Linked DNA regions of Homo sapiens: regions 2, 3, 4, 5, 6 and 7 are each linked to region 1. The links are contacts of gene promoters, found by promoter capture Hi-C in human tissues and cell types (Jung and others, 2019). All regions are on one chromosome and are shown on one strand. The core of a region is centred on a gene start or on the middle of the fragment in contact, and the rest is flanking DNA. Distances in the headings are between cores, read along the strand shown. Region 1 holds the start of TEAD4 (TEA domain transcription factor 4). Region 2 has its middle 17 kb from the start of CACNA1C-AS1. Region 3 has its middle 5.7 kb from the start of LINC02371. Region 4 overlaps ITFG2-AS1 (ITFG2 antisense RNA 1). Region 5 overlaps FKBP4 (FKBP prolyl isomerase 4). Region 6 overlaps NRIP2 (nuclear receptor interacting protein 2). Region 7 overlaps TSPAN9 (tetraspanin 9).

What was found. The method cuts DNA at HindIII sites, captures the fragments that hold promoters and counts their contacts. A contact is called where the count stands out against the background at its distance.
Region 2: a contact is called between a fragment that was not itself captured here and the fragment with the promoter of TEAD4 in region 1, in 2 of the 25 tissues and cell types used here (dorsolateral prefrontal cortex and small bowel).
Region 3: a fragment that was not itself captured here is called in contact with the fragment with the promoter of TEAD4 in region 1 in 2 of the 25 tissues and cell types used here (liver and pancreas).
Region 4: a contact is called between a fragment that was not itself captured here and the fragment with the promoter of TEAD4 in region 1, in 6 of the 25 tissues and cell types used here (IMR-90 fibroblasts, adrenal gland, aorta and 3 more).
Region 5: a fragment that was not itself captured here is called in contact with the fragment with the promoter of TEAD4 in region 1 in 2 of the 25 tissues and cell types used here (IMR-90 fibroblasts and liver).
Region 6: a contact is called between a fragment that was not itself captured here and the fragment with the promoter of TEAD4 in region 1, in 3 of the 25 tissues and cell types used here (liver, mesendoderm cells and neural progenitor cells).
Region 7: a fragment that was not itself captured here is called in contact with the fragment with the promoter of TEAD4 in region 1 in 1 of the 25 tissues and cell types used here (neural progenitor cells).

What each region holds. Positions count from the first base shown.
Region 1 is chr12:2,957,113-2,961,269 of GRCh38, forward strand. It overlaps TEAD4 (TEA domain transcription factor 4), which reads left to right and starts at 2,285. Exons shown (of 13, transcript NM_003213.4): 1 at 2,285-2,369; 2 at 2,836-2,928. It overlaps LOC124902859 (a long non-coding RNA gene), which reads right to left and starts at 2,936. Exons shown (of 2, transcript XR_007063159.1): 1 at 2,629-2,936; 2 at 486-1,113. RefSeq lists an enhancer at 2,455-3,190. The HindIII fragment of the contact is 29,957 bases long and covers 1-4,157 here.
Region 2 is chr12:2,705,822-2,709,978 of GRCh38, forward strand. No RefSeq gene overlaps it. Among named protein-coding and RNA genes, the nearest start is that of CACNA1C-AS1, 17 kb to the left of the region's middle. The HindIII fragment of the contact is 4,465 bases long and covers 1-3,928 here.
Region 3 is chr12:2,732,281-2,736,437 of GRCh38, forward strand. No RefSeq gene overlaps it. Among named protein-coding and RNA genes, the nearest start is that of LINC02371, 5.7 kb to the right of the region's middle. The HindIII fragment of the contact is 3,130 bases long and covers 890-4,019 here.
Region 4 is chr12:2,787,669-2,791,825 of GRCh38, forward strand. All of the region lies in intron 2 of ITFG2-AS1 (ITFG2 antisense RNA 1), which reads right to left. Among named protein-coding and RNA genes, the nearest start is that of FKBP4, 5.2 kb to the right of the region's middle. The HindIII fragment of the contact is 5,168 bases long and covers 1-4,157 here.
Region 5 is chr12:2,803,169-2,807,325 of GRCh38, forward strand. It overlaps FKBP4 (FKBP prolyl isomerase 4), which reads left to right. Exons shown (of 10, transcript NM_002014.4): 10 at 1-2,255. The coding sequence ends at 90. The region is part of intron 1 of ITFG2-AS1 (ITFG2 antisense RNA 1); the gene reads right to left. Among named protein-coding and RNA genes, the nearest start is that of ITFG2, 7.4 kb to the right of the region's middle. The HindIII fragment of the contact is 4,968 bases long and covers 1-4,157 here.
Region 6 is chr12:2,825,175-2,829,331 of GRCh38, forward strand. NRIP2 (nuclear receptor interacting protein 2) reads right to left here. Exons shown (of 6, transcript NM_031474.3): 3 at 3,158-3,240; 4 at 2,752-2,873; 5 at 2,451-2,503; 6 at 174-2,125. The coding sequence ends at 2,033. It also overlaps a transcript of ITFG2 not described here. Among named protein-coding and RNA genes, the nearest start is that of NRIP2, 7.8 kb to the right of the region's middle. RefSeq lists a silencer at 1-243. The HindIII fragment of the contact is 4,824 bases long and covers 1-4,116 here.
Region 7 is chr12:3,087,026-3,091,182 of GRCh38, forward strand. All of the region lies in intron 2 of TSPAN9 (tetraspanin 9), which reads left to right. Among named protein-coding and RNA genes, the nearest start is that of TSPAN9, 12 kb to the left of the region's middle. The HindIII fragment of the contact is 5,075 bases long and covers 1-4,157 here.

The sequences.
Region 1 (4,157 bases), core at 1,035-3,534:
CACTGCTTGAGTTTTAGGGCACCCCGAGTCTCCAGTTCAACTGCAAGACTGTTGCAAGACGGTCTTCTTGATGGTGCTGCTGATTAAGTCACACTTGTGTCTTTTTTGATGCCTAACTCTTCAGCATGGCACGCAATGACCTTCAAAGTCTGGTATCCACTTCCTTCAATCTTATTATCCACATCTCTATTCTCCAGCCACACCAGTTTACATAGCTTCGCTAAACACACCAGCAGACTGGCTGCCTCACCTTTGTAGGTGCTATTCCATGTGTCTTAAATGGGGTTTCCAGTCTCAGTTTGGCAAACCCTCATTTATCCTCAAGAGCTAGATCAAATGCACTGTAATTGGATTTCACTGTTCCTTCCCTTGGGTTCCCATTGAACTTTGCATAATTGTCTGTCTTCTCACCTAGACTGGAACTACTTGAGGAAAGGGACCTACTCCTTCCCTTAGTGCGGTGTCAAAGTCAACAAACACTCCAATGATTGCTGAATTAATATAATTATTATTAATTACTTTGAGACAGGGTTTCGCTCTGTCATCCAGGCTGGTGTGTAGTGGTGCATTCACGGCTCACTGCAGCCTCAACTTTCTGGGGTCAAACTATCCTCCCACCTCAGCCTCCTGAGTAGCTGGGACTACAGGTGCAGGCCACCATGATGCCCAGGCTGATCTCGAACTCCTGGGCTCAAGCGATCCACCTGCCTCGGCCTCCCAAATTGCTAAGATGACAGGCGTGAGCCACCGGGCCCCCCATGATTGCTGAATTAAATAGTTGGTGCTTAGTGTGTACTTCACGTGGCGCTGATATGCTGCCTTGCGTTTTGGTCTTTTCATGTGCATGAGGTGTGACCAAGCCTTGATATGATTCATTATTTAACAAGAATACCACAATTCATCTATTCAAATGAGGGCTGCGTCTTCAACGCCTTCACCTTGCAGGACTGGATGCTTAGCTCAGTCATTGCTTGAAACACTTTTGGAATACCTCTCTTGGAAACAACTTTGGCATCGATAGCACTTTCCTTTCAATATCTTCCACGGTAGCAATTGTTTTTCATTTATGCAGCATTTATCATGCACTTCCCTATCCCAGGCACCAGGCTGGATCTGTGTGAAAGATAAGATAAATCAGACATTACTCTGTCTTCAAGGAAGTTTCTGTTTGGCAAGGGAGATAAGATCTAGACAACCACCCAACACAAGGCTAAGTGATAATGCCCCAGAAAAGGTTGGATTTGATTTTTGGAAAAAGCCAAAAGTCCTTTGGTTTCAGTCTCCTGGCCAGGTAGATGATGGCGCTACCTGCCAGCACACTGCTTTAAGCCCGTTTGTCCTAAGCGTCTCCAAACAAGGAGCCCAGCGTGTTTCCAGCACCTCCTGCCCCAATAAGAGACTCCTGGGCATGTGTGTCTGAAGTCCAGACTCTCACCGATGGCAGTATACACCGAGGCCTCCCCAGCTAAACTCTGAGCTCTTTGAGGGCAGGTGCTGACGGCTGATCCTGATCTTCACAGTATCTGGACTCATCACACATCTTAGATGAATATTCATTGAGTCACTGAGCCCAGAAGGCGTCCCATGGCATGCCACATGGACTTCAAACCGAGTGCCCTTTCTCCCATGTGGTTTACTCGTAGTGGCGGTTTTACAGATGCCCAAGGGGCAGGAGAGAAAAACGGAAAGAGCTAAAGCCGGGGAGGGCAAGCGAGGGGGCACTGGCAGCGGATCTGGGAATGGAGCCCGCGAGTTCCTGCTTCCTGGTTCCCCGGAGCAAGTGTCCTTTGGTGGGAGCCGCAGGAAGGGAGCAGCCCTTCCTGCGCGCCGGGAGCCCGCCCCTTCCCCGGCCTCCCAGGGACTCGTGCGGAGGGACGCCGGGTGGCGGGGCGGGAGTCTGGGCCCCGTCCACCCCCCCGCCCCCGGGACAGCCCCACCCCGGCGAAGAGGAAGGCTCTCGGCTCCTGGGAAAGGGAGTCGGGACCCCGCCAGGAGGGGAGGGCGCGGGGCGCGCAACGAGCAGCCAAACAGTCGGAGCGGAGAGATCGAAGGGCTAGTGGGCGTGGGGGCCGCAGCCGAGGCCCGGGTGGAGGGGTCCCCGCCGTCCCTCGGCCCCCTCCCCCGCCGCCCGCCCCGGCCCGGCCCGGCCCCGCCCCGCCCCGGCGGCCCGGCCCCTCGCCCGCCCGCGCGCGGCGCAGTCTCCTCCCCGAGGTGCCGGTGGCCCCGCCGCCACTCCCTCCGGCTCCCTCCCTCCCGCCGCGGCGCGCATCTCATTCCAGCCCTCATTCCGCGCATTCCAGCGTCCTCCTCGCACACTCGAGGCCAGGGGGCGGGAGGGCCGCAGCTCCGGCGCCGCCGCGTCCCGCCAGGTGAGAGGCGCCCGCGCCCGCCGCACCCGCCGGCGCCCTCACGGGCCGCGCGCCCCACGCCGCCGCAGCCGACCGCTCGCGCCGCGTGCTCGGCTGCTCTTTTCTTTCCGCCGCCCGCGTTCCCGCCTTGGACCTCTGCGCTCCGACGCGCTCCGTCCCGACCTCTGGCTTCCCTCCGCGCTCCGGCGCTGCTCGCTGCCCCTCTCCCGCTTCCCTCCTGTCCGCCCCGCGCTCCCCTCCTCGCTCCCGGTTGACTCACTCCTCCAGGAATAGGGATCCCCGTGTTTTCCCGTCAGTCCCATTCTGGGAAAACTCCTCCCTCCGCGCGCTCCGCTCCGCTCCGCTGGGCGCACCGGGGCCGGTCGGCGCGGGGTGGGCTTGGCCCCGCGGCCCCGCCTTCACTGCGCCGCCCGTCGGCCCCGGCCGGAGCCCGGCTCTGCGCGCTGACGCCCTGTCGTCCCCGCAGAACGATCGCCGCGGCCGGAAGAGTTGGCGCTCGGGGCGGACTCCTTGGAACTGGCTTAGCGCACCCATCCCACCTTCCCGCACCCTGGGACCGGTAAGGCTGGGGCGCGGGGACTTGGTAGGACTTTGCCGGAGGGCAGGAGTCTGCGCGGTGCGTGCGGAGCTCCCTCCCGGGACGAGACTGGGAAGAGCGAGGCACGTGGAGGCGGCGCGACTGAGGCTGCTGGAGGCGAAGCGGCTCCAGGGGCGGGTAAGGGGGGTGGACACTCGGGACTTTGGGGGAAAGGGAGGCCGGTGTGGAAAGGACCGGAGAGGCAGAACCGAGAGCATCGGCAACAGAAGAGACCCAGCACCCATGCCTCTTTTCTGCTGGGCCCTTTTCGAGCCTGGAAGGGAGAGACCTGGAGGTAAGCGGACTGCCTGTTTTAAGTGCAAAGGCGATGCGAAAGTCGGGGGACCCCTGCAAAAGGTCCTACACCTCAGGGCTTGGGAAGCTGCTGTGTTTCCTGATGGGGACTAGTGGATCGATCCAGGGAGCAGAACTTTCAAACCCCAAAGTGAACATTTCCCCCGTTGTGCTGAGGCACTTGAGGCCCCGCGGACTGACTGCGTCTGTGCTGAGTCTGTGTGACACCTGACTGCGAGTCCCCCTCGCTTTGAGTCTCTGTGTGGGTGATGTCTGTTCACGTGTGGCTCACCTTGGCTTCCAGTGGGCGTATTTGTTTGTGTTGAACGTGAGTGACAGAGTGTGTGTATATGTCTGCGTGAGAAGGGGCTGTCTGAAAGTGAGTATCTCTGAGTAGGTGTGTGATGCCACGTCTCTTGAGTATGTGTTTCTCTTCGAGGATGTTGGTTCTGGCTAGGACTGTTCTTCCTCCCTACATAGCCGTGGGCAAGAGTCAGTGTCTCTGGTTGCCTGAGTGCAGGGATAATTTGACTGTGGTTTTGGAGTGTGTGGCCTCCAGGCTCCGTTTCCCCTGGACCGGGCAGAGCTGGAAGGAAGCTGGCTCCACCTGCCTCTTGGAGCCAGGAGGCTGACTTTCTCAGGGCGAGGGTCTTGTGCTTGCCTGGAATAGGTCAAAAAGCTGGTAGGAGGCTGAAGGAAGTTGAGATCTTTGCCTTTGGGGGATGGGATGGGCGGGTGAGATTTGGGAAGGTTTGTCGGGGTGGATCCCCGGGAAAAGGAGACAGTTTTGAATCTGGAGACTTGTGTAAATAGTGCTTTTAAGTTGCCCTCAAGGACAAACAGGGAGGTATACCAGCCTGAACTACTTTTCCTGGTTTAACTCTCCTCGGAGCTGACCAGGTAACCCAGTAGAAGAA
Region 2 (4,157 bases), core at 446-2,945, 250 kb before region 1:
ATTTAAAGTCAGATTTGAGCAGGAAGAAGAAAGAATCAGTAAACTTAAATATAGGACAATGAAAATTATTGAGTCTGAGGAACACAGAAATAAAATATTGAGAAAAGTAAACAGAGCCTAAAAAGACCTGTGGGACACCATCAAGCAGATTAATGTACACATTGTTGAAGTCCAAGAAGAATAAGAGAGAAAGAAAGGAGAAGAGATAACATATGAAGAAATAGTAACTGGAATTTTTCCAAATTTGACTAAAGACATGAATATAAATATCCAAACTTAACAAACTCTAAGTAAGATGAAAAAGACCCATACTAAGACATCTTATAGTTAAGTTTTTGAAATATAAAGAGAGACTCTTAAAAGCAGCAACAGAGAAGTGACTTATCACACACAAGAGTAGTCTAAGCAAGATTAACAGAAAATTTCTCACCTGAAACTTTTGAGGCCAGAAGGCAGCAGGCCAGTATTTTCAAAGTGCTAAAAGAGAGAGAAAAACAACTGTCAGAGAAGAATTCTATATGTGGCAAAATTGTCCTTCAAAAGTAAAGAAGAAATTAAAGCATTCCCAGATATGCAAAAGCTGAAGGAGTTCATTACCACTAGACCTACCCTGCAAGAAATTCACTCCTGCAGGGTGAAATGAAAGGACACTGGGCAGTAATTTGAAGCTGTATGAAGAATAAAAGATCTCAATGAAGTTAAATACATGGGCAACTATAACTCTGCTTTTTCTTTTCTACTCCACTTTTTATTTTCTACTTGATTTAAGAGACTAGTACTTAAAAAATACTAATCTAAAAGGTAGTATTATTATAACTTTAGTTTGTAACTCAACATTTTATTTTCTACATAATTTCAAAGACTAATGCATTTTCCAAAATTATTAGTTTGTGTTTTGGAGCACACAGTGTATAAAGATGTAATTTTGGGACAGCAACAACTCAAAGGGCTGAGGACAAAGTAGTAAAGAAGCAGAGTTTTTATGTTATTGAAACTAAACTGGTATAAATTCAAATTACAGTGTTATAATTTTGAGAGTTTAAGTACAATCCCCATGGTAACCACAAAGAAAGTTGCTATAGAATATACACAAAAGAAAATTAGAAAGGAATTTAAGTGCTTTACTCCCAAAAAAATCAACTCAACACAAAAGAAGACAGTAATATAGGAAATGAGGGACAAAAGAAGGTATTAGAAAACAAATGGCAAAATAACAGAAGTAAGTCCCTCATTAGTAATTACTTTAAATTTAAATGGATTAAACTGTCAAATCAAAAGACAGAGATTGGCAGAATGTATTGAAAAATATGAGCCAACTATATGCTGTCTGCAAGAGACTCACTTAAGATCCAAAGACACAAAAACAGACTAAGAGTGATAGGGAAGATATTCTATGCAAATAGTAACCAAAAGAGAGCAGGAAGGGCTACACTAACATGAGAAAAAATAGACTTTACATTTTAAAAAGCTTACAAGAGACATTATATGTTAATAAAAGGTTCAATACAGCAAGAAATTATAACAATTATAAACAGTTTCACACCTAATAAAAGACCATCAGTATATGTGGAACAAAAACTTCAGGCAGAATCAAAGGGAGAAATAGACAATTCTACAATAACAATTGGAGATTTCAATACTCCAGTGCCAATAATAGATAGAATAACCAGAGAGGATAAATAAGGAAATAGAGGACTTAACACAATAAACCAACTATATCTAACAGACATACAGAAAACGTTATTCAGTTACACAAGCATACAGATTCTTCTTAAGAGTACATGGAGCGTTTTCCAGGGTAGACCATATGTTAAGCCACAAATGAAATCGCAATAGATTTTAAAAGTTATCATACAAAGTATCTTCTCCAACCACAGCAGGATGAAATTAGAAATCCAAAATAGAAGGAAAGTTGGAAAATTCACAAATTTGTGGAAATTTAACAGCACACTCTTAACTATTGAATCAAAAAAGTAGATATCACAAGAGAAATTGGAAAATAGTTAGAGACAAATGAAGACAAAAACACAACATACCAAAACCTATGGAATGCAGAGAAAGCAGGGCTAAGGAGAAATTTTATAGCTATAAGTTCTTACATTTAAAAAAAAAAATCTTAAATTAACAACCTCTCCTTACAACTTAAGAAATTATAATGAGAACAAATTAACCAAAAAGGAGGGAAAATTATAAAAATTAGAACAGTAATAAATGAAATAGAGAATGGAAAACAATAGAGAAGGACCAATGAAACCAAAATTGGTTCTTTGAGAATATCAACAAAATTCACAAAGTTTTAGCTAGACAGACAAGGAAAAAAGGAGAGGAGACTTAGATTACTAAAATCAGATATGAAAGTGGAGGCATTACTACCAATTATACACAAATCAAAAGGACTATAAGAGTACTATGAACAATTGTACACCAAAAAATTGGATAACCTAGATGAAATAAACAAATTCCTAGAAAAACAAGACTCACCCAGACTAAATTACAAAGAACTGGAAAATCCACATCATGCTATAACTAGTAAGGAGATTAAATCAATAATCAAAAATCTCCCCATAAAGAAAGACCATGAACCTGATGGCATCACTGGCAAACTCTACCAAACATTTAAAGAACATCAATACCTGTCAAACTCTTTCAAAAAAAATTGAAGAGGAGAGCACACTTCCTATCTCATTCTTTGAGGCCAGCATTACCCTAATACCAAAGCCAGACAAAGATACTACCAGAAAAGAAAAATACAGACCACTGTCTTTTATAAACATTGATGCAAAAATCCTCAACAAAATACTAGCAAGCCAAATTCAGCGGCATATTAAAAGGATTATACACCATAACCAAGTGGAATTTATTCCTGGAATGCAAAGATGGTTCAACATATGAAAATTGATCAATGTAATAGACCACATTAATAAAATAAAGGGGAAAACACATGATCATCTTCATTGGTGCAGAAAAAGTATTTGACAAAATTTAATATCCTTTCATGATAAAGACATTCAACAAACTAGCAATAGTAGGAAACTACCTCAACATAATAAAAGCCATATATGTAAAGCCCACAGTGAGCACCACGCTCAATGATGAAAGACAAAAAGCTTTCCCTCAAAGATCAGGAACAAAGCAAGGATGCCCACTTTCACCACTTTTATTCAACATAGTACTGAAAGTTCTAGCCCTAGCAATTAGACAAGAAAAAGGAAAAAGTCATCTGAATTAGAAAGTATGAAGTAAAATTAGCTCTGTTCACAGATGATATTATCTTCTATGTAGAACATACTGAGGATTCCAGACACCAAAAAAGTTAGAACTAATAAACGAATTCAGCAAAATAACAGCATATAAAGCCAAAGCACAAAAATCAGTTGCATTTCTGTACACTGATAATGAAAAATCTGAAAAAGGAATTTTGAAAATAATTCCATTTACAGTAGCATCAAAAAGATTAAAGTACTTAGGAATTAAGTTAACCAAGAAGATAAAAGACTTATACAATGAAAACTACAAAACATTGCTGAAAGAAATAAGAAAGACATAAATGGCAACATACCCCATGTATGTGGATTAGAAGAATTCATATTATTAAGGAGTGAGTGCCACTGAAAGTGATCTGAAGATTCAATGCAATAACTACCAAAAGTCCTAAGGATACTTTTTGCTGAAGTAGAAAAACCCATCCTAAAATTTATATGGAATCTCAACAGACATCAAATAACCAAAACAATCTTGAAAAACAACAAAGCTGGATGACTCACACTTTCTGATTTCAAGACTTACTATAAAGCTACAGTAGTCAAAATAGCATGATAATGGCATACAGACAGACATACAGACCAATGGAATAGACTCCAGTGCCCAGAAATAAACCCTGTATATAGTCAGCTGATCTTTGACAAGGGTGCCAAGACCATTCAATGGGAGAAAGAACAGTCTCTTCAACAAATGGTTCTTGGGAAAATGTATATCAACATGAAAAAGAGTGAAATCAGACCCCTATCTACTACCATATACAAAAATTAATTCAAAATGGATCAAATACCTAAATGCAAGGCCCAAAACAATAAAACTGCCATAAGAATTAAATTCTGCCATATACTACAACATGGCTGAAACTTGAGGACATTATGCTAAGTAAAAATAAGCCAGTC
Region 3 (4,157 bases), core at 1,205-3,704, 220 kb before region 1:
AGGCCCTGGGGATGCTCTTGTTGGGACCTGTTTTTTTCTTCCATCTGCCCCTAGATTCAGATGTGCGGCAGTCTGACCTGGAATAGACCATCAGCAGGTCCCACAAGGGTATCAGCACTTTTTCCATTTCTTTCAAACCTCCAACTCCCCTCTCCCACACTCTCATCTCCTCTCATACTTTAAACTGAAAAAACAGAAACTGCCGGCCAGGAAGCGCCTGTTTTCTACCCTTCCAAACCCACAAACCTCCTTTTTCTTCCCCCTTGTCACAAGGCGGAAATACTGCAACTCATCTCTTTGAAGGCCCGTCCAGGGGGTGTTCCAGTTCTCAGCCCCAGACCTCCTCAGAGACCCTGCACCATTCGTCAGCCCCCTCCCTCTAAATTCTCAATTTCTACCTCTACAGTCTTCCCATCTGCAGCCAAAGAGTGTCTCCCATCTCACCACCCATCCCCACCACAACATACCCTCTCTCTCTGTCCTCTTCACAGCCAAGCCCCTTGGCAGAGCGGACACCAGCCTCCATGCTGCCTTCAGCTCCTCACCTCAGATTCACCCTCAACTGCTCCCACCTGGTGAGGTCTGACCGCCCTCTTCTTCAGGCAGGTGATGTGCTGCTGTAATTAAGCAATGTGAATGACTAATTCACTGTTGTGCTTTGTTTTTATCTTGCCTGGAATAGCAGAGCTACATGGGTAGTTAGACTAATTCTATTACACTGGGTTCATGGTACATTTCTTTTCCTTTCCCCATAGTTTTAATGGTTACTTTATAGTTTGATACCACAGATCATAGTATAAGCGACCATAAAGTCTTTGGAGCTAAAAGTTCTAGAAAGACAAGGAGAGACACACCTGGTTCAGTTTGTATTTAACTCAAAAAGCAATTTCAAGGCAATGATGATATAAATTATAGCCCAAAGTGTGAAAAAACAATATGTAGCCATTTAATTCTAAATCCCCAGTGATGGGCATAGAGAAGCTCTCAATAAATGTTTGTCAAGTGTGTAAATGAATGATATAAAGTCAAAAGGGAAAACCACAGATGTTACATGCTTGACAAACAGCATGGCCAACTGTGCGTGCCTACCGACACACACCAGACACCTGCACAGAGAGACGAAACAGGTGAAGCATGGGATGAGGAGCTGCAGGCTGATATCCTTTTGTTGTTGTTGTTGTTTTTTGTTTCTTGTTTAATAGCATCACAGGGAATACAAGGTGGAGGGGGCGTGCCAGAGTGCTCTGCAATACAGTTCTACGCTCTGTGTGTTCCATTTGGTAGAAAACATGGTTTTGGTTCTCTATTCCCATACCCCTTGATGGCAGGAGAGATAAGGTCTCCTTGCAAAACTCCTACCAGGCGGGAGCTGCGGGTATGGTCATCTTTGGAAACAGTCTGCCACTGGGGACTTTAAGGACGTTTCCTTCCTGAAGTTGCAGGAAATCCTATCAAGGCACTTCTGTGATGGTGGATTATTCCTAATGATTCATGGGCCAGCAGGTGGGGCTGCATCTGGCTGGCCTACTCTGTCCCACATAGCGTCAGCCTGGGTGTTCTTGAATGAAGTCCCAGTGGCCAGCAGCTGGGCTAAGCTGAGGATCACTCACACGATGCCTGCCTGGTCCATACACGTCCCCCCACCCCGACCCCTTGCCTGATTGCTCTGGCTGGGACTTTCAGTACTATGTTAAATAGGAGTGGTGAGAGTGGACACTTCCTAACTCAATCTCTTATCTTGAGTTTCTTCGTTGTGTGGCAACTGGTGTCCCCAGAGACAGGATTTCTGTCATGGCACGGCCTCAGAAGCCACTCAACCTCACTTCTGCAGTCTCAGACTCAGGGGAAGGGGAAGGGAAAGGGATGCTGACAGACGCTCCCCCTTGATAGGAGGAGAGATAAGATCTTCTTGCAAAAATCCTGCCAGATGGGAGCTGCAGGTATGGTCATCTTTGGAAACAGTCTGCTGCTGGGCCTTTAAGGACGTTTCCTTTCTGGACCTGCAGCAAAGCCTATTTCAAGGCACTCTTGCTTAGCAGGCAGCCTGGTGAGTAGACTCTAAGAACAGTTTCATGAAGCCCTGGGTGTTCTTTTTAAATATCTCAGTTGACATGAACACAAAAATGAGCAGCTGGGTCTGGAGCAGGTGGAAGAGTAACCTGAGGCCATCTAGTGGCATTAAGACCAGCCATGGTGGGGACCTTTATGCGACCTGCCCACCATGGGCTCTGGAATCTTGACCACAGCCCCTAGCAGGGGACCCTGATCCATTTCTGTCTCTCTACAGTATTACCTGGGGGTTTTAGTTTTGTCACTTGGAATTGCATAAACAGTGTTTTAGTACAGTTATTTTTATTGGGGTAAAATATACGTAACACAGAATTTACCATCTTACCCATTTTGGGCAACATGACACAGTGGCATTAAGCATGTTCACATTGTTGGGCAACTGTCACCACTCGGGAGGCTGAGGCAGGAAAATTGCTTGAACCTGGGAGGCGGAGGTTGCAGTGAGCTGAGATCACGCCACTGCACTCCAGCCTGGGCAACAGAGCAAGACTCTGTCTCAAAAAAGGAGAAGAAGAAGGAGAAGGAGAAGTGAATTCATACAATATTTGTTCCTTTGTGTCTGGCTTATTTCACTTCACGTGATGCCCTCAAGGTTCATCCATGTCATAGCATGTGTCAGAATTCCATCCCCTTTCAAGGGTAGATAATATTCCATTGTATGAGTAGACCACACTTTTATATATTCATTCATCAGGGAATGCTTGAGTGGTCTCTACCTTTGGGCTATTGCGAATAAGCCTTCTGTGAACATAGGAGCAGAAATATTAAAAATGATTCATAAAGGAAAATTTATTCAGCCAGTACTTGAGCATCTGTTCTGGACCAGACGCTGTGCCAGGGACCACGATAAACAAAACTGTAGGCACAGCCAACCGTCTCCTGGAGCTCAGAGCCTAAAGCGGACAGAGAATCAGTGCGGTGAGGTAACCGTCAGGACAGGAGGAACAGGTGCCCCGTGGACACATGAAGCCTGACCCAACTCCAAGAAAAGGCCCCAGAGGGTGGTGTGACTTGGAATCTGGGATCTGAAAAGTCAGACCGGGGCAAGGATGTGGGAGCAAACAGGAGTGGGCAGAGAAAGAGGCAGAGACCCAGGAGCATCTGAGTCTGAGGGTGAAACTTGTAGGTGAGTGGCAAGCACCCAGGCCAAGGGACATGGGGGTTAGAGTGGGTGGTGTCGGCCTTGTGAGCCTGTTAACAAGCTTGGGTTTATCTTAAAATCATAGAAGTCACTGAAACATTTCAAATAAGGAAGTGACAGGATCTAGTCTACATTGTACATGATCAGCCTGTCTGTGGTGTGAGTGGATTTGAGTGGATAAAGGCAAAAGTTCAGGCAGGAAGCTATTGTTCACAGCCAAGCCATCAAGGACAGAGGCCTGAGCTCATTGACTAGCAGGGAAGGAGACAAGGCACAGTTGGTGGGGGGTGACTGAATCCAGGAAGTGAGAGAGAAGTTGGCACTAAGGAAAGAAAGCCACAGGTAGTTATTAAACAGTGGATTCAAGCATAAATCCAGGTGCGGTGAAATATTGATGCTGTCGAGTGGGATCTGGTGCTCATGTTCAGTTCTCTTCCAAGGACCTGGGGATATCTTGGTCTTTGGTCAGATTTTTCTTCATCAGCCTCATTCCCTGCAACCTGTTAGGCCTCCTGGATGACGCATATCCAAAGAGTTACCATTTTCGGAGCATAATCTATGTCCTGTGAGCCTCAAAACAGTCTATAATGAATCGATTTGTGTCCCCCTAAAATTAACATATGGAAACCCTGACCCTTAATATGACTACTTGAAGATAGGGGCTATAGGGAGGTATAAAGGTTAAATGAGGTTGTAAGCATGAGACCTTAATCTGACAGGACTAGTGTCCTTACAGGAAAAGGAACAGATGTTACAGATGTCTTTCTCTGCGTGTACATAGAGAAGAGGCCACGTGAGGACACAGCAAGAAGGCAGCCATCCACAAGCCAGGAAGAGACCCCTCCCCAGAAAACAACCCTGACAGCATCTGAATCTCAGACTTCCAGCCTCCAGAACTGGGAGAAAATGCATTTCTGTTATTTAAGCTACCCAGTCTGTGATATTC
Region 4 (4,157 bases), core at 440-2,939, 170 kb before region 1:
AAAGCAAATTTTATCTATAATATATCAAGAAATCTCACAGATTAATAACCAGACAACAAAATTCTTTTTTCTTTAATTTTTTTTTTTTTTTTGAGACAGAGTCTCGCTCTGTCGTCCAGGCTGGAGTGCAGTGGCGTGATCTCGGCTCACTGCAACCTCCACCTCCCAGGTTCAAGCAATTCTCCTGCCTCAGCCTCCCAAGTAGCTGGGATTACAGGTGCCTGCCACCATGCCCAGCTAATTTTGTGTATTTTTAGTAGAGACGGGGTTTCGCCATGTTGGCCAGGCTGGCCTTGAACTCCTGACCTCAGGTGATCCACCTGCCTCGGCCTCCCAAAGTGCTGGGATTACAGGTGTGAGCCACCATGCCTGGCCAACAAAATCCTTTAAAATGGACCAAAGATTTAGACAAGTCTTTCACAAAAGAGGCTATCCAGATGGCCAATAAGTATATGAAAACTGTTCAACTTAATTAGCTATCGAGAAAATACAGATTATGTATTATGTATCTAGCTCTACATCCCCCAGGTGCACTAGAATGAAAAGGACTGACAATACCATGTGTTGGCAAGAGTGTGGACAAACTGGTGCTCTTGTACACATTCGGTGGGAGTGTAACCTGAACCACAACTGCAGGCAATTGTCAGTATCTACCAAAACCAAATATAAGGAACACCCAAACCCAGCAATTCCACTTCTTAGGTATCTACCAAACTGAAATAAGCACGTATGTTCATCAAGAGTCATGTACAAAAATATTCAGAGAAGCTTCATTCATCATAGCCAAAAACTGGAAGCCCCAATGTCATCAACAATAGAATGGATACAGTGTGGGGTGTTCAAACCATGGAAGATTACAAAGCAGTGACAGGTAATGAGCTACTCCTGTCTGCCACGAGATGGATGAATTTCACAAACATAATGTGGAAGGAAGGAAGACAGTCATAAAAGAGTCTATACTGTACGACCCCTCTTGAATGATGTGCAAAACAGATACAACTAATCTATTATGACAAAGGTCAGAAGAGTCGTTACTATTGGAGATGACGATTGACTGGGAGGGAACATCCAGGAGCCTTAAGGGTGCTGACATTTTCTACATCTTCATCTGGGTGACAGTTTTGTGGACACATACATATGGAAAAATGTATCAAGCTATACATTTAAGATATATGTTTTGTCCTTTTAAAAGTAAGTAAATATGATTTTCCATATTTCAAGCTCTTTCTCAAGTTCTAGCTCTTTGTGAGGACTTCCCAGAATACTTTTTCCAGATGCTGCCATTCTGCACTTTGAAACTGTGCCACACTGGCTAGTCCTGGGTTCTGCTCTACTTCTCTTTATAGGCAAGCTCCTTAAGGGAAGGTAGATTATGTCACAGACTCTGCACTCCACAGCCTCTGGTACAGACCTAGGAACCTAGTAGGTGCTCAATAAACATCTTTCCACCGGCTGGCCATCTACAGGAAGTATAAATTTGCGGGGGGAGGGGGCAAGCCCTGAGGACAGGGGCTGTGGGACGTTCTCCATCATTTTCCCCTCAAGGAAAGGAAAGAGAGGATGGTTGGGGTGCCACATAATTAATCAATGAAGCCCCTAGCAAACAAGGGCCCCTTAAAAAAAAAGATACCCCTCTTCTCCAAGGGCGTATGAGTCTAACGAGGGACAGATTGGTCTATCCAGGAATCTATGTGAGAATCCCCACCCCTGGCCAGGGCTTCCAGCAACCTTTCTTCCCATGAGAAAATTAAACCTGAGGAGGTAAACCCAACGAAAAACCAAAATAACTCCCCCAGAGGAGGCTACTCGTAGAGAGAAGGGCTACGTAACATCTCATCTGTGAGCCTATGTGAAGAGTGAGACTCAGAGATACAGTGAATACACATTTTGGCTAAATGCTAAAGGGACACATATTTAAGTCAATATCTGACTAAACAAAAACTATTACCAACAAAGAATGAACTTCCAGGATACAAGAATAAATATGAACTCTCAAATAAATTATTGTTCCTATTACAATTCATACCTTTTTTAAAAGTTAGCAGACTGATCATAGAAGTTGGATGTTATAGTGAAGGAACAATGATGTCTTAATTTCTCAATAATGACAGCTGCTGGATTGCTCTTGTGATCACTGCAGTGCACATTTATGATATTAAATATACATTTACTTTCAACTGAGGATGATGGACGTTCAGACTATTTTTCCCAAGTGGCAATCCATGTCCTAGTTATGCTAATTAGATATGATAATAACCTAGACACATACATGATGCTTTTTCATATGTAAAATTTTGTGTTTAGTTTTTGGTAGAGACAGGGTCTCACTATGTTGCCCAGGATGGTCTTGAATTCCTGGCCTCTAGCAATCCTCCTGCCTCAGCCTCCCAAGGTGCTGAGATTACAGGCATGAGCCACTGCACCCGGCCACGTGATCCTTGATCACACACAAGTTCAAGGAAGACAGAAATAATGCTGAAATCAACCTTTGGCTATTTGACCCTCTGAAGATCCAGGCCAAAGCCAAATTTCAGTGCATCCACAGATACAGTAGGATGAAGATTTGCTACTTCCTATCTCCCCAAGAGCAAAACAGAAATATGCGTATTTATCAGAAGGAAGAAATTAGATTTTATAAAAGGAAACAAGCTTTGTTTCAGCAGGACAACCACCAAATATCCCATTACCTCCTCTCAAGGAGATCAGCTAATGGTGGGATTCATGGAAGTGTTGACACCAAGTCTACCTTTAAGGGGCTTTCAGTCTTGTTGGAATGACAGAATATCAGCAGGTGAAGCTACTGTGAGTTACATGAGATAGTCAAGTTCATAGTCAAGTGTCCAGGTGCATAAAGCACAGATGTAATTTAACATTAGAAGAGAAGCACTCCTCTGGAACTAATGGAGCAAAGCCTTATCTAGACCAGTGGCTTTCAACTTCAGGGCTGGAGTCTTCCACATCTTCAACTGCGTATTCCAAGGCCCGGGTCCTGTGGCTCATGTCTGTAACCCCAATACTTTGGGAGGCTGAGGCGGGCAGATCACCTGAGCTCAGGAGTTCGAAACCACCCTGGGCAACATAGTGAGACCCCGTCTCTACAAAAAATAAAATTACTGGGTGTGGTGGCATGTACCCGTAGTCCCAGCTACTTGGGGGACTGAGGTAGGAGGATTGCTTGAGCTCGGGAGATTGAGGCTGCAGTGAGCCATGTTCACGCCACTGCACTCCAGCCTGGGTGACAGAGCTCGAGAGCCTGTCTCAAACAAACAAAAAACACAACTGCATATTCCAGCAATCAACAGGCTGAAATGTGGCACACACACTACCACTCACCTACGCCCTGTGTACCATATACAAGTTCAGGTACTTCACATGTAATATCCCATTGCCAGTCTCAGTGGCTCACACCTGTAATCCCAGCACTTTGGGAGACCAAGGAGGATCACTTGAGTTCAGGAGTTCAAGACCAGCCTGGGCAATACAGGGCGATCCCATCTCTACAAAAAAAATTTTTTTAAGTTAGCCAGGCATGGTGGTCTGTGCCTGTGTAGTCCCAGCTATTCCAGAGGCTGAGGTGGAAGGATTTGCTTCAGCCTGGGAGGCGGAGTCTGCAGTGAGCTGTGATGCACGACTGCATTCCAACCTGGGCGACAGCGTGTGACCCTGTCTCCAAAAAATAAATAACCCATTTAATCTTCAGAGAAAACCCCTGAGAGAAAGGCATTATCATGACAGCCATTTTAGGGACAAGGAAACCTTCCTCCAGGACTCACACGGTGAGTTCAATGATGAAGCTGAGATTTGAATCCAGGTAAAGAGCTTGTGCTGGAATTGGAATCCAGGAGAATCCAATCCAGAGCCCATGAGCTTAACCTTCACGCAGGTCTTCACTATGCACAGGCCTCACATAGGGGCCTACTATTTTTAAATTGTATGAAAATGGGACTAAAATCACTAACATAAATAAATGTTTTAAGAAGTATGTAGAGGCCGGGCACGGTGGCTCACGCCTGTAATCCCAGCACTTTGGGAGGCCGAGGCAGGTGGATCACGAGGTCAGGAGATGGAGACCATCTTGGCTAACACGGTGAAACCCCGTCTCTACTAAAAATACAAAAATTTAGCCGAGCATGGTGGTGGGCAACTGTAGTCCCAGT
Region 5 (4,157 bases), core at 1,076-3,575, 150 kb before region 1:
TCAGGAGACCATCCCACTGACACAGAGATGAAGGAGGAGCAGAAGAGCAACACGGCAGGGAGCCAGTCTCAGGTGGAGACAGAAGCATAGCCCCTCTCCACCAGCCCTACTCCTGCGGCTGCCTGCCCCCCAGTCTCCCCACTCCACCCTGTTAGTTTTGTAAAAACTGAAGAATTTTGAGTGAATTAGACCTTTATTTTTCTATCTGGTTGGATGGTGGCTTTAGGGGAAGGGGGAAAGGTGTAGGCTGGGGGATTGAGGTGGGGAATCATTTTAGCTGGTGTCAGCCCCTCTTCCCTTCCTCCATTGCACATGAACATATGTCCATCCATATATATTCATCAGAATGTTAATTTATTTTGCTCCCTCTGTTAGGTCCATTTTCTAAGGGTAGAAGAGGCAAGTGGTAGGGATGAGGTCTGATAAGAACCCAGGGTGGAGAGGGAGACTCCTGGGCAGCCGTTTTCCTCATCCTTTCCCTCTCCCAGTCCATTTCCAAATGTGGCCTCCATGTGGGTGCTAGGGACATGGGAAAAACCACTGCTATGCCATTTCTTCTCTCTGTTCCCTTCCTCACCCCCGACGGTGTGGCTGATGATGTCTTCTGGTGTCATGGTGACCACCCCCTGTTCCCTGTTCTGGTATTTCCCCTGTCAGTTTCCCCTCTCGGCCAGGTTGTGTCCCAAAATCCCCTCAGCCTCTTCTCTGCACGTTGCTGAAGGTCCAGGCTTGCCTCAAGTTCCATGCTTGAGCAATAAAGTGGAAACAATAAAACCTGGGTGTCAGACAACCCTTTCTGTTCAGCCTTGGAGTGGTGGGTATGGGTGGGTACATAATGGGTAGTAGCACAATCAAGGGGTCACCCACTTAGTTCCAGTTGAGCTTAAATAAGTGAGCATCTCATGTAGATGCCATAGTTGGGCAGGAAGCAGCCCCACCATGCATGGCTTCCTGAGCACTGCACAGGCTGCCGCTGGGATTTGTGTCTATGGCTTCGCCCAAGGTTCCCAGCACTCCCTCCCTCCAGCAACCTGGCAGTTTTAGTGCCTCTGGTTTTCTTCCCTGACACTTAGGAAGACGAAAGTATAAAGATCTAGAAGACTGGGACACCATGCATGTTCATTTTGAAGTTGGAATTGGTCTTCTGCCTACCTCTGATCTGGCAGAGGTATCTGCATTTTGGTTTGTTAACAAGGTAAAACTCCTGGTGTCACTGACCTCCTCCTGTCAGATAACTTACATGATTAAGGTTAAGAGTAAAGCAGAGTGTTCACGTCCAGCTTCCTTCTCAGCCTTAACAGGAAAAGGCTTGTGCTTTTTTTCTAACTATGCTTTGACCCTTAACTCCTATGGCATGATGGGGCCCTGGGAGAAGCCAGGCAGCACAAGCCAGTCATGCTGAGCTGCCTCCAGATAATCCTGGCTCCAGGCCAGAGCCCGTGTCTGCCCTCATCCCTCTCTCCTACTGTGAGCTCTCCAGTCCTTTCCCAACAGCGATGTGGTTGTCTGCTTAGCCACATGCCTGTATAGTTCCTTCCAGAAGAAATGTATAATGGTGGAAGATGTATTTCTGTGTGAAAATTTTCACCAAGTCATACAACACAGCTGATGCTGGAGCCAGGATTAAAATTGGGGTGTACAAGTCTCCCAGTGTGAGTATCCCTTGAGCCCAAGACACCAAGGATGCAGAGAACTGTGACTGTGCCACTGCACGCCAGCCTGGGCAAGAGAGTGAGACCATCTCTTTTTTAAAAAAGTCCCTGTGTAACTGCTTTCTTACTGGGCTTACCTCACATCACAGCCCTGTGTTTGTGGTTTGTGTCTGGGTCCTCTTGGTATTTCAAAAGTAGTAGATTCTTACGCCTGCAGCCAACAATAATCACTAACTCAAGCATTTATGGAGTAAGCCTAGCACTGTACTGACAGCATCACATGAGTGAAACTGAATCCTTGCAACCATCCTACAAAGAAGGTATAACTTTAATAACCCTATTTACAGATAAGAAAACCAAGACTCAGAAGTTAAATGGAAAGGTGAGGTCTCTGAACTAATCCAGACTCTCCCATGAGGTTCCTTTGGCAAGTCCTGGGCTTCTGTCCTCATCTGCAAAATCGAAAGCATTCCTGAGGTTTCTTCCAGCTCTGCATCCTGTAGGATTCCAAGAATGTAAAACTGCATGTAACCGTGGAACATCTAGAGATAAGTCTTAGTTTATGTAACATTAAAACTGTCTAGTGAGGATGTTTTGTTAAAATGCCTACAAGTCTTTCAGCCTAAAAATAATCCTGCCACATACTCAAGTCTGCCCTGGGTCAGTGCTACAAGTTCATTTCCCAGTCAGTTGTCCCTGCCTACCGACACTTAAATCTTTCTATATGCAGAGAAATGTGCCTGAAGAAAGAAAAGTTAGTAGCAAGCAGTACTGTGAGCTTTTAACAAGCTTTGCAAGTGGTCTCTAGAAAAATTTAAAATAGGGTTTATCTTGCCCTAGTGCTGGTTCTAACATCGAGTTCCATGAATTTTATCTCCCAAGTATTTCTACTCCCTCCATACTAGTACCGCTCCCTCCCATCACCATGCACTCCAGCCTGCTCTCCTGCAAATCCCAGGCTCCTATCTGGGATTCCCTCCTGCCCCTCCTGCAGTTCACTCTGTACTGCATCCCAATCGTGTCCCTCCGAGTACTTAAATCACTTTCAATGATTACCCATCCCATTTAGGCTAAAGAATCCTTATCATGGCCCACAAAACCCTGCAAGGCTTGGCAAAGTGCACTTAACACTTGCCCTCACTCTATGCCAGCTTCGCCACCCTGAGGGTGAATGGAGGACTGTATTCCATTTCCATTGGAGAAAAAATATGTGAAAGGCACTTTATGCAGGACTAGTAAAGTGTAGTATCTTTTTAGAAAATGTCATTACTGGAAAAAGTTAGAAAGCAGAACTTCTCAAACCTTATTCCTGTTACGTCTCAGTGACTAATTTTCCCTTTCCAAATGCAAAACACCTCAGAACCTTAAAACAAGTTGAAACGACAATGCATTAAGGGCAGTGCTGAATACAACCAATGTAAGAGTCTGGACATTGTAAGTAAGGAAAATTTGTTCTCTTTCTGGAATTCATTATTGCTGCCTTATGGCTACAGTTCCCCAGCTGTTTGCCAACCTCAGATGATGTGGATGCATTAACTATCCCCAGTTAGAAAACCTAGAAATAATAAAAACATTAATTTATCCTGTGCTAAATAACACTACCAATTTTTTTAATTTAATTTATTTTCTTTTTTTTTTTTTGGAGATGGAGTCTTGCTGTGTTCCCCAGGCTGGAGTGCAGTGGCGCAATCTTGGCTCACTGGAACCTCCACGTCCTAGGTTCAAGCAATTCTCTCTCAGCCTTCCAAGTGGCTGGGACCACAGGCGCACGCCACCACGCCTGGCTAATTTTTGTATTTTTAGTAGAGACAGGGTTTTGCCATATTGATCAGGCTGGTCTTGAACTCCTGACCTCAGGTGATCCACCCGCCTTGGCCTCCTAAAGTGCTGGAATTACAGGCGTGAGCCACTGCGCCCAGCCTATTTTTTTTTTCTTTTTTTTGTTTTTTTGTTTGTTTGTTTGTTTAAGACAGGGTCTCACTATTTTGCCCAGGCTCAGTGCAGTGATGCAGTTACAGCTCACTGCAGCCTCGACCTCCTGGGCTCAAGAGATCCTCCCAACTCAGCCTCCGGAGTAGCTGGGAGGGACTACAGGCACATGGCACCATGCCCAGCTTTTTTTTTTTTTTTCCAGACAGAGTGTAGCTCTTGTTGCCCAGGCTGGAGTGCAATGGCGCAATCTCAGCTCACCGCAACATGTGCCTCCCAGGTTCAAGCAATAATCCTGCCTCAGCCTCCTGAGTAGCTGGGATTACAAGTGCCTACTACCATGCCCAGCTAATTTTTGTACTTTTAATAGAGATGGGGTTTCACCATGTTGGCCAGGCTGGTCTCGAACTCCTGACCTCAGGAGATCTGCCTGCCTAAGCCTCCTAAAGTGCTGGGATTACAGGCGTGAGCCATTGTGCCCTGCCATGCTATACCAATTTGAGAGGCAAAGTAAGAGTGAATGGTCTCAGGGATGATCAAGAAAAAGCAATGCCTTTGTGAATGTCAAGGGTCCTG
Region 6 (4,157 bases), core at 455-2,954, 130 kb before region 1:
TCGAGGAGTTTGAAAGCCATTGCTTTCAAATTCCTCTCAATTATACTGACCCTAGTCAGATGGGTCAGCCTGGGCAAGGGCCCACATTTACATTTCCTTTCTGTAAGGGACAATGGGCAATTATCACTCAGCTCTTGATAGGCAGGGAGGAAGACCAGAGAAGAACATCGACATAGAGAAACAAGAGTTTATTCCAATGGAGAAGCAGCTGAGCCGAGGGCTTGCCATTGGGCCTGGGGTCTGCAGTTACAGAAGCAGCAGGAGGCAGACAAGGAAAGGCACAGCACAAGACCCAGGAAAGTGGACCTTGTGGAGCAAGGCAGTGAGGGCGAGGAAAGCTTTTAGGATTTTGAGACCAGGTGCTATGGCACAAGTGATAAGTGAGCCCTCTCCTTTCCTTCTGAGGGCAGGGGAGGCAGCTGAGAAAGGGCAGGGGAGGCAGCTGAGAAAGGGCAGGCCAGGTGTCACAGGCAGCTCCTTGCATCCCGGTTCTTCTCTAACCCAGTCAACCCCAGGCTCAAGACTGTTTCAGCCCAACGGTCCCAGTTCCCTTGTTCAGGTTAGCTGTACCACTGTCTTTCTCTGCTCCTTTTTTGTTTGTTTTTGGAGACAGGGTCTCACTCCTTCACCCAGGCTGGAGTCCGATGGCACGAACTTGGCTCACTACAACCCCCATCTCCCAGGTTCAAGCAACTCCTATGCCTCAGCCTTCCAAGTAGCTGGGATTACAGGTGTTCACCACCATACCTGGCTAATTTTTGTATTTTTTAGTAGAGATGGGGTTTTGCCATATTACCCAGGCTGGTCTCAAACTCCTGACCTCAAGTGATCCACCCACCTCAGCCTCCCAAAGTGCTGGGATTACAGGCATGAGCCATTGCGCCTGGCCTCTTTCTTTACTCCTAATCCATGATTTGAGAGACTCAAACCAGCCAGAAAGACTCTCAGGGATCTGGCGTCTTAAGGTTCGGGTTCTTCTCTTCACAGTGAATTCAAAAAAGCCTCTGTCTCCTGACAGACCCCAAACTTTAAAAAAAAAAAAAAAGCCTCTGTCTTTTTGCTTTGGCAAAGCCTGGCAGGGGGTTAGAAAGCCACTGATTCCAGGACAATACAAGCTTAAGCTCAAGAGGCCAGAGATGGGGATAGGAAGAAGGCCTAATGAGGTGGATAGTTCTAGAAATCAGAAAGAATGCTGAATAGGTGAAGTCTGAGTGGTGACAACCTCACTGTCCTGTCTGCCTCACAGGAGCAGTTCTCTACAAGGCTCTTCCACACACACACACGCAAGGCTCAGGGGCTCGGTGGGTACAAAAAGCCAGTGGAAACGGATAAATACCTATAGCGTTAATAGCAGAAGTATGTCCAAGGTTTTGCACAGGGTAATCAAACTAACTGGCTTCAGACATTTGCAGCCACAGGAAAAAATAGCTCTCAGCCTTATGAGATGGACATTCCTATACTAACTCCCGCTCTTTGTTGTATTGAATTCTGGCTGTTTCTTCCCCCACTCAACTGTGAGCAGATGTGCACAGACTCCGAGAGGCAGACACCAGGAGGTCCAGGGACATAGGTTGGTGAGGCATGGCGGTCTAGTTGTGGGAGATAATGAGGCCCAGAAGGTGTGGTGAGAGACATGGTGGTGTGGGAAGTTGAGTTGTGTTTGGGGTGGTATTGGGTGATGGACAAGGACAGCAGTCAGCAGAGCCTTCGACCCAGCCCAAGCAGGCACCCCATTGTGCTTAGGTTCCTATCTGTGGTCTTGATTTGGCTTTGCTTTTCTTGGGAGGAAGATGAATCAGAATCCTGGCATCGTGGGCCCTCTAGTGAAAACTCGTCCTGGGGAGTAGGACAGCTGCTGAGAAGCAGAGAGGAATGCGGCCAGCTGGGGAAAATGGGACAGCAGGGGTCAGGGAGGTGATTGGAAGGGCAGACACCATAGTCCCCAGCTACCTGGCTTCAAGAGCCCCCGTTCCCCACACGCCTCTTCTTCTAAGGCAAGGTCTTTCCCTCTGGGGACTGACTGAGACAGCAGTCACTGGCCAGGCTCTTGGTACAAAGGCAGGAAGGGTAGCTCTGAGAACGGGGCTTTCAGCCGCAGCACTCCGTGCTCCAGGTCGATGCAGCACTGCGGGGTGTAGAGCAGTCATGCCAGGTCACCTCAGCCCGCCACCTGCCTCCCGGCCTGCTCCTTTTGTTCCCCCTCCCACTTCCCACAGCTTCCACCTGCCTTTTGCTCTTCCCCCATCCCCATTTCCCTAGACTCCTGTTGAAGGGGGTGACCCAGTTCTCTTGATTTTTCACTTGGTGGTAAGTAAGGAACCTCTAAGGAAGCAAAGGGACAGTTGCCCATCTCTAAGTCACTCTCATCAGAACCTGGTCCAGGTTCCACACCTGTGCCTTCTACTACTTTTTCCCAGTGCTTTGGGTCAGGCCCTGAGTGGGTGCCTTACCTTGAGAGAAAGCAGAGTCTGCAGGCCCAGGCAGAATTCAGGACTCTCAGCATCTATAGGAACAATTTGAAAACAGAAGAGGCTGAGGGTTCCCAGTGGTCACTGCTGCCCTCCTCTTAGCCGTTGCTCCTTCTCTGCCCACCCCATCCCCAGATCCGAGGACACTGGCACAGAGATGGGGGATAGTCAGAACATCTCTGGGAACTCCTCGTGCTGCAGGGAGTGAAAGTCTCAGCCTTTGCCCCACCCCAAAGAGAAAGGTGAGGTGAGCACCAGGGCTGTTGCAGAAGGGGGGACTTACCCACCACCTGTGCCGAGCACACCACAGTCTCCTGCCCCAGCTGTAGCTCCAACTGCTCCACCTGGGTTGGGGGCCCAGGGGCCAGGTCCCCAGCTGAGGCTTTTAGGACCCTTTTCTCTAACCTGTGGTTGGGAAGCAAGGGTTATGGCTACCACAGCCCCTAGAGGGTTCCACCCCATTAATCAGCAGGTGTCCCTCTCTACTATGGTTTCATCTCCAACCCCTGACCTCACGTGGGGTCTAAATCCTTGCCTTCTCTGCCAGAGTCTTCTAGCCACTCTTTTGTTAAATAACAGCTTTATTGAGATAAAATATGCAACTGTCGTCACTATCTAATTTGAGAATATTTTCATCACCCCAAAAAGAAACCCTGTCCCCCACTTGCTTGTTTGGGCCACATTCTTACCCCAGGCGGCTGAGACATCCAGCAGAGATCCGATTGTATTGGGTGCCTGTGTCAACGGCCACTCTAAGCAGCTGGTCCTGGCACTAAGAAAGAAGAATCGTGGTGAATCAGTGAGTCCCTAGGAGAATGGGTTGGAATTGGATCCTTCAGTTTCCCAGCCCATTGATGATTCCCTCCTAGAAATGAGTGGAGAAAATGAACTGTCTTTAAAACTGGCTTTTATCGGGGCCAGGCGCGGTAGCTCACGCCTGTAATCCCAGCACTTTGGAAGGCCGAGGCGGGTGGATCACCTGAGGTCGGGAGTTCAAGACCAGCCTGACCAGGGTTTAGTAGAAACCCTGTCTCTACTAAAAATACAAAATTAGCTGGGTGTGGTGGCGCATGCCTGTAATCCCAGCTACTCGGGAGGCTGAGGCAGGAGAATCGCTTGAACCCGAGAGGCGGAGGTTGTGGTGAGCCAAGATCACGCCATTACACTCCAGCCTGGGCAACAAGAGCAAAACTCTGTCTCAAAACAAACAAAAAAACTGGTTTTTATGAGACTCATACAATAGGGGCAGAACTCCCAGATAAATAAATCAAAAAAGGAAGTGGACCAGGTGCGGTGGCTCATGCTTGTAGTTCTAGCACTTTGGAGGCAAGAGGATCACTTGAAGCCAGGAGTTCAAGACCAGCCTAGGCAACATAGCAAGACTCTGTCTCTACAAAAAATAAAATGGAAAAAAAAAAAGTGGTTATATGTGATGGGTTCATAAGTTTGGGGAAGATCTGCCAGAAATGGAGAAACGGTGATTTGTTTGTTTAGAGGAATCCTTGGGAGTTTGATGGCCTCCTGGTTCGAAAACTCCAGGTTAGGAATAGAGGAAGGATGAGAAGACTGGAATCCCTGTTAGGAAACTCAGATATGAGTAACCAAGAAGTTCGCTATTGGAAACAAAGGAAGACAACTTCACCTACTTTGGGACATAGACATTTTGATATACGCTTGGATATACACACA
Region 7 (4,157 bases), core at 958-3,457, 130 kb after region 1:
AGGTGAGGGAAGTGAGCTGGGGTGGGAGGGATTCTCAGAGCAAGATTGAAACAGGGTGCAGCCATGCACATGTGTGGGTGTTAGTGACTATGTGCACACTTGCCTTACATGTGTGTTGGGTGTGCTTGCATGGGTTTGTGTGGGAGGGCACTCTGCATTGTTTTGGCACTCAGTGGAGGGGCCCACGTGTGCACTCTCAATAGATCAGTATAGGCCAGACACAGTGGCTGTCATCTGTAGGCCCAGCACTTTCGGAGGCCAAGGCGGGAGCATTGCTTGAGACCAGCCTGGACAACATAGTGAGACCTCGTCTCTAATAAGAATAGAAAAAAAAATTAGTCAGGTGTGGTAATCAGTGTGTGCCTGTAGTCCCAGCTACTCAGGAGGCTGAGGCAGGAGGATTGCTTAAGCCCAGAAAGTTGAGGCTGTAGTGAGCCATGATCGTACCACTGCACTCCGGGCTGGGTGACAGAGTGAGACCCTGTCTCAAGAAGAAAAGGGTCCGGGCATGGTGACTCACACCTGTAATGCCAGCGCTTTGGAAAGCCAAGGCAGGCAAATCATGAGGTCGAGAGTTCGAGATCAGCTTGGCCAACATGGTGAAACCCCATCTCTACTAAAAATACAAAAATTAGCCGGGCTTGGTGGTGCGCACCTGTAATACCAGATACTCGGGAGGCTGAGGCAGGAGAATTGCTTGAATCTGGGAGGCGGAGGTTGCAGTGAGCCAATATTGGCCACTGCACTCCAGCCTGGGCAACAGAGCCAAGACTCCATCTTGGAAAAAAAAAAATGTCAGTATATACCTGTGATGTGAGTGCCTTCCCCTTAGATGGCAGGGTAAAACCTGGACACGGTACCTGGGAACCCTGCTGACGGCCTCTCCCCTGGCCACCTGCCAGTGTGGAGACTGAGGCTTAGGGGCCCAAAGCTCTCCGACAAGCCCTGAGGGTGGCAGTGCCAGGGACAGTAGGAGAAGATCCTGCCTCAGCAAGTCCCCAGCCCCGTCTCAGGGCCAGGCTCTACAGGAGGGCTCAGAGGGGCAGGGTGCCCAGCTGAGTTTGAATGAACTGTGTCTTTCCGGGTGTGTGAACATGCAGGATGACATGTTTTGTTTTAGAGAAAATGAGGTAGAGGTCTGGGCTTGCAATTTTCCACTTGTCTTAATCCTGGGAGATTCTAAACAGCTTTGTTTAAAAACTGGACATGCAGATTGCAAAGACCTGAGTGAGGAAGAGCCATTGGGTCCCCCAGGAAAACAATTAGGTTTGAAGCCAGAGTTTGGATTTGTTCGACCATTTTGAGTGCTGTCTGCAGCATGTGGGACCTGGAGGCGCTTACAGCATCACCCATGGTGTGAGTCACTCCAAATTAGCAGCCATTTCAAATTGGCTTCCACTGACTTGCTGCTGGGGATGGGTGGGGCTGGGGGGGAAGCTCCAGGCCTGGCTGTCACCCATCATCCAGGCTGTGGCCGGCAGAGAGGGGAGGGGGCTGGAACAACCTGTCTTGGCTCAGCCTGCCCCCACTGTTGGCCAGAGAAGCTGGAGCTGGTGGTCTGTGAAGGTCTCCTGGACGGAGCAGTTCGTGCCCGCAGTGCAGGGAGAACACTGGAGACCATGCAATTCAGGGCAGGGTTGGTGGAACTTTTTCTTGGCATCCATTTGAGAAACTCAGAGGGGATCAGGCTGGGCCTTGAGGGAGGGCTGGGATTTAGGGAGGGAAGAGAAGGGTCTCTGAGGGGTTGTAATGCTGGCTGGGAGCTTGGTTGGGGTGGGGACAGGTGTGGCCTGCAGGAGAGGGTGAGCTGTTCTGTCTGGGGCACCTGACATACTGCTTGGAGCAGCTCAGGCGCGGGAGGCTGGTGGTGGGAGCCAGTGTTGGTCTTTGAACAGTGGAATGACAGGATGAAAAGGGACACTATAGGCTGGGTGTGATGGCTCACGCCTGTAATCCCAGCACTTTGGGAGGCCGATGCAGGCGGATCACGAGGTCAGGAGATCGAGATCATCCTGGCTAACACGGTGAAACCCCATCTGTACTAAAAATGCAAAAAATTAGCCGGGCGTGGTGGCGGGCGCCTGTAGTCCCAGCCACTCGGGAGGCTGAGGCAGGAGAATGGCATGAACCTGGGAGGTGGAGCTTGCAGTGAGCTGAGATCGCGCCACTGCACTCCAGCCTGGGTGACAGAGCGAGACTCCATCTCAAAAAAGAAAAAAAAAAAGAAAAGGGACATTATAGGAAAAATTAGATTGTAGCAGAATTCAAGGTGAATTTTTTTTTTTTTTTTGAGACAAGTCTTGTTCTGTCCCCCAGGCTGGAGTGCAGTGGCGTGATCTTGGCTCACTGCAACCTCCCACTCCCTAGTTCAAGCGATTCTCCTGCCTCAGCCTCCCGAGTAGCTGGGATTACAGGCATGTGCCACCACGCCTGGCTAATTTTTGTATTTTTAGTAGAGACGGGGTTTTACCGTGTTGGCCAGGGTGGTCTCGATCTCCTGACCTCGTGATCCGCCCTCCTTGGCCTCCCAAAGTGCTGGGATTACAGGTGTGAGCCACTGCGCCTGGTCTCAAGGTGAATTTTTTTTTAAAAAGCATCCTTTTGGCTGGGTGTGGTAGCTTATGCCTGTACTCCCAGCACTCTGGGGGGCCGAGGTGGGAGGATCAGTTGAGCTCAGGAGTTTGAGACCAGCCTGGGCAACATAGCAAGATCCTGACTCTACAAAAAATTAAAAAACGTAGCCAGGCATGCATACCTGTAGTCCCAGCCACTCGGGAGGCTGAGGTGGGAGGGTTGCCTGATCCCAGGAGTTTGAGGCTACAGTGAGCTGTGATCACGCCGCTGTACTCCAGCCTGGGCAACAGAGTGAGATCCTGTCTCAAAATAAATAAATAAATAAATAAAATAAAAGCATCCTTTTTTTTGTTGCAAAATAATAAAAACTCATTATAATATCCAAACATTACATAAATTATAGAAGAGGAAAATCTCCCCTAATCCTACCCATCAGAGATAATCACTGTTAATACTTTGGTTTGTATTATTTCCAGATATTTCTGGATAGACTAGCATCCAGCCGTCCACCTATTTATCTTCTCAATTTCCATAAATAGAATTGAATTCAACTTACTGTTTTGCCCGTTCTTTAGGCATCTTTTCACATCAGTACATTCAGAACAACCTTATTCTTTTCCGTAGTTGGCGCAGACTTGCTGAATGGATTTTGTTCCATTCATCACTGAGGTCTATGCTGCATAGACCACCCCAAAATATAGTGGATTAACACAAACACCATTTTCTTTGCTTCCAGTTCTACGGGTTAGCCTTTTGGGCTGGTCTCTGCAGTCTTGCCTGGGCTTATTAATGCGGTAGCAGTCAGCTGGTAGCTCTGCAGGCCCTGGACAGCTCAAGGAAGCTTCATCATATATCCGGTGGTTGGTGCTGGCTGTCAGCTGGGCTCCCCTGCTACGTGGTTTCTCACTGTCAAGGAAACTAGCCTTTCAGGTGAAAACAGTCTACAAGACCTCTTAATATCTAGGCCCTGAAGCCTCACACACGCATTGTCTGTTGATTGCTGGTAACAGCAAGTCATGGGACCAGCAGAACTCCAGGGGCGGGCAGACTCCACCTCTTGGTGGGAAGGCTGGCCACGGCACAAGGAGGGTATGTGTGTTCCAGGTGGGGAGGACGCGGACGTGCGATCCCTCCCTGTGCCCAGAAGCATGAGGAATAGACCCCACAGGTAATGAGGAATAATGAGGAATAGACCGCAGAGATAATGAGGAATAGACCCCACCGATCTTTGGAAGATAGTGCAGACCCCTTCTCCTCCCAGATCACTGTTCATCCCCAGATGGGTCATCCAGGGAAACTGGCAAACACTCGATCTTCATGTTGGGTGTCCTTTGAAGTGGAGTCAGTGTGTTGTGTGTGTGCACGCGGCTAGCGCTGGCAGAGGCTTGGACTTTGTAGTAGACAGTGTCTCCTGCCCTATGGCTCTGAGAGCTGTAGAAGTCAAACCTTCCTGCCCTCTGCAAGCTGCCAAGAGCTTGTCTTCTTGGTACTCCCTGCTGATTTTCATGGCATCTCTGAAAAATGTGTCAGTGAGCGACAGGTCTTTAACAAAGCTAGTCCGGCCTTCCAGGCCCAGGCGTCTG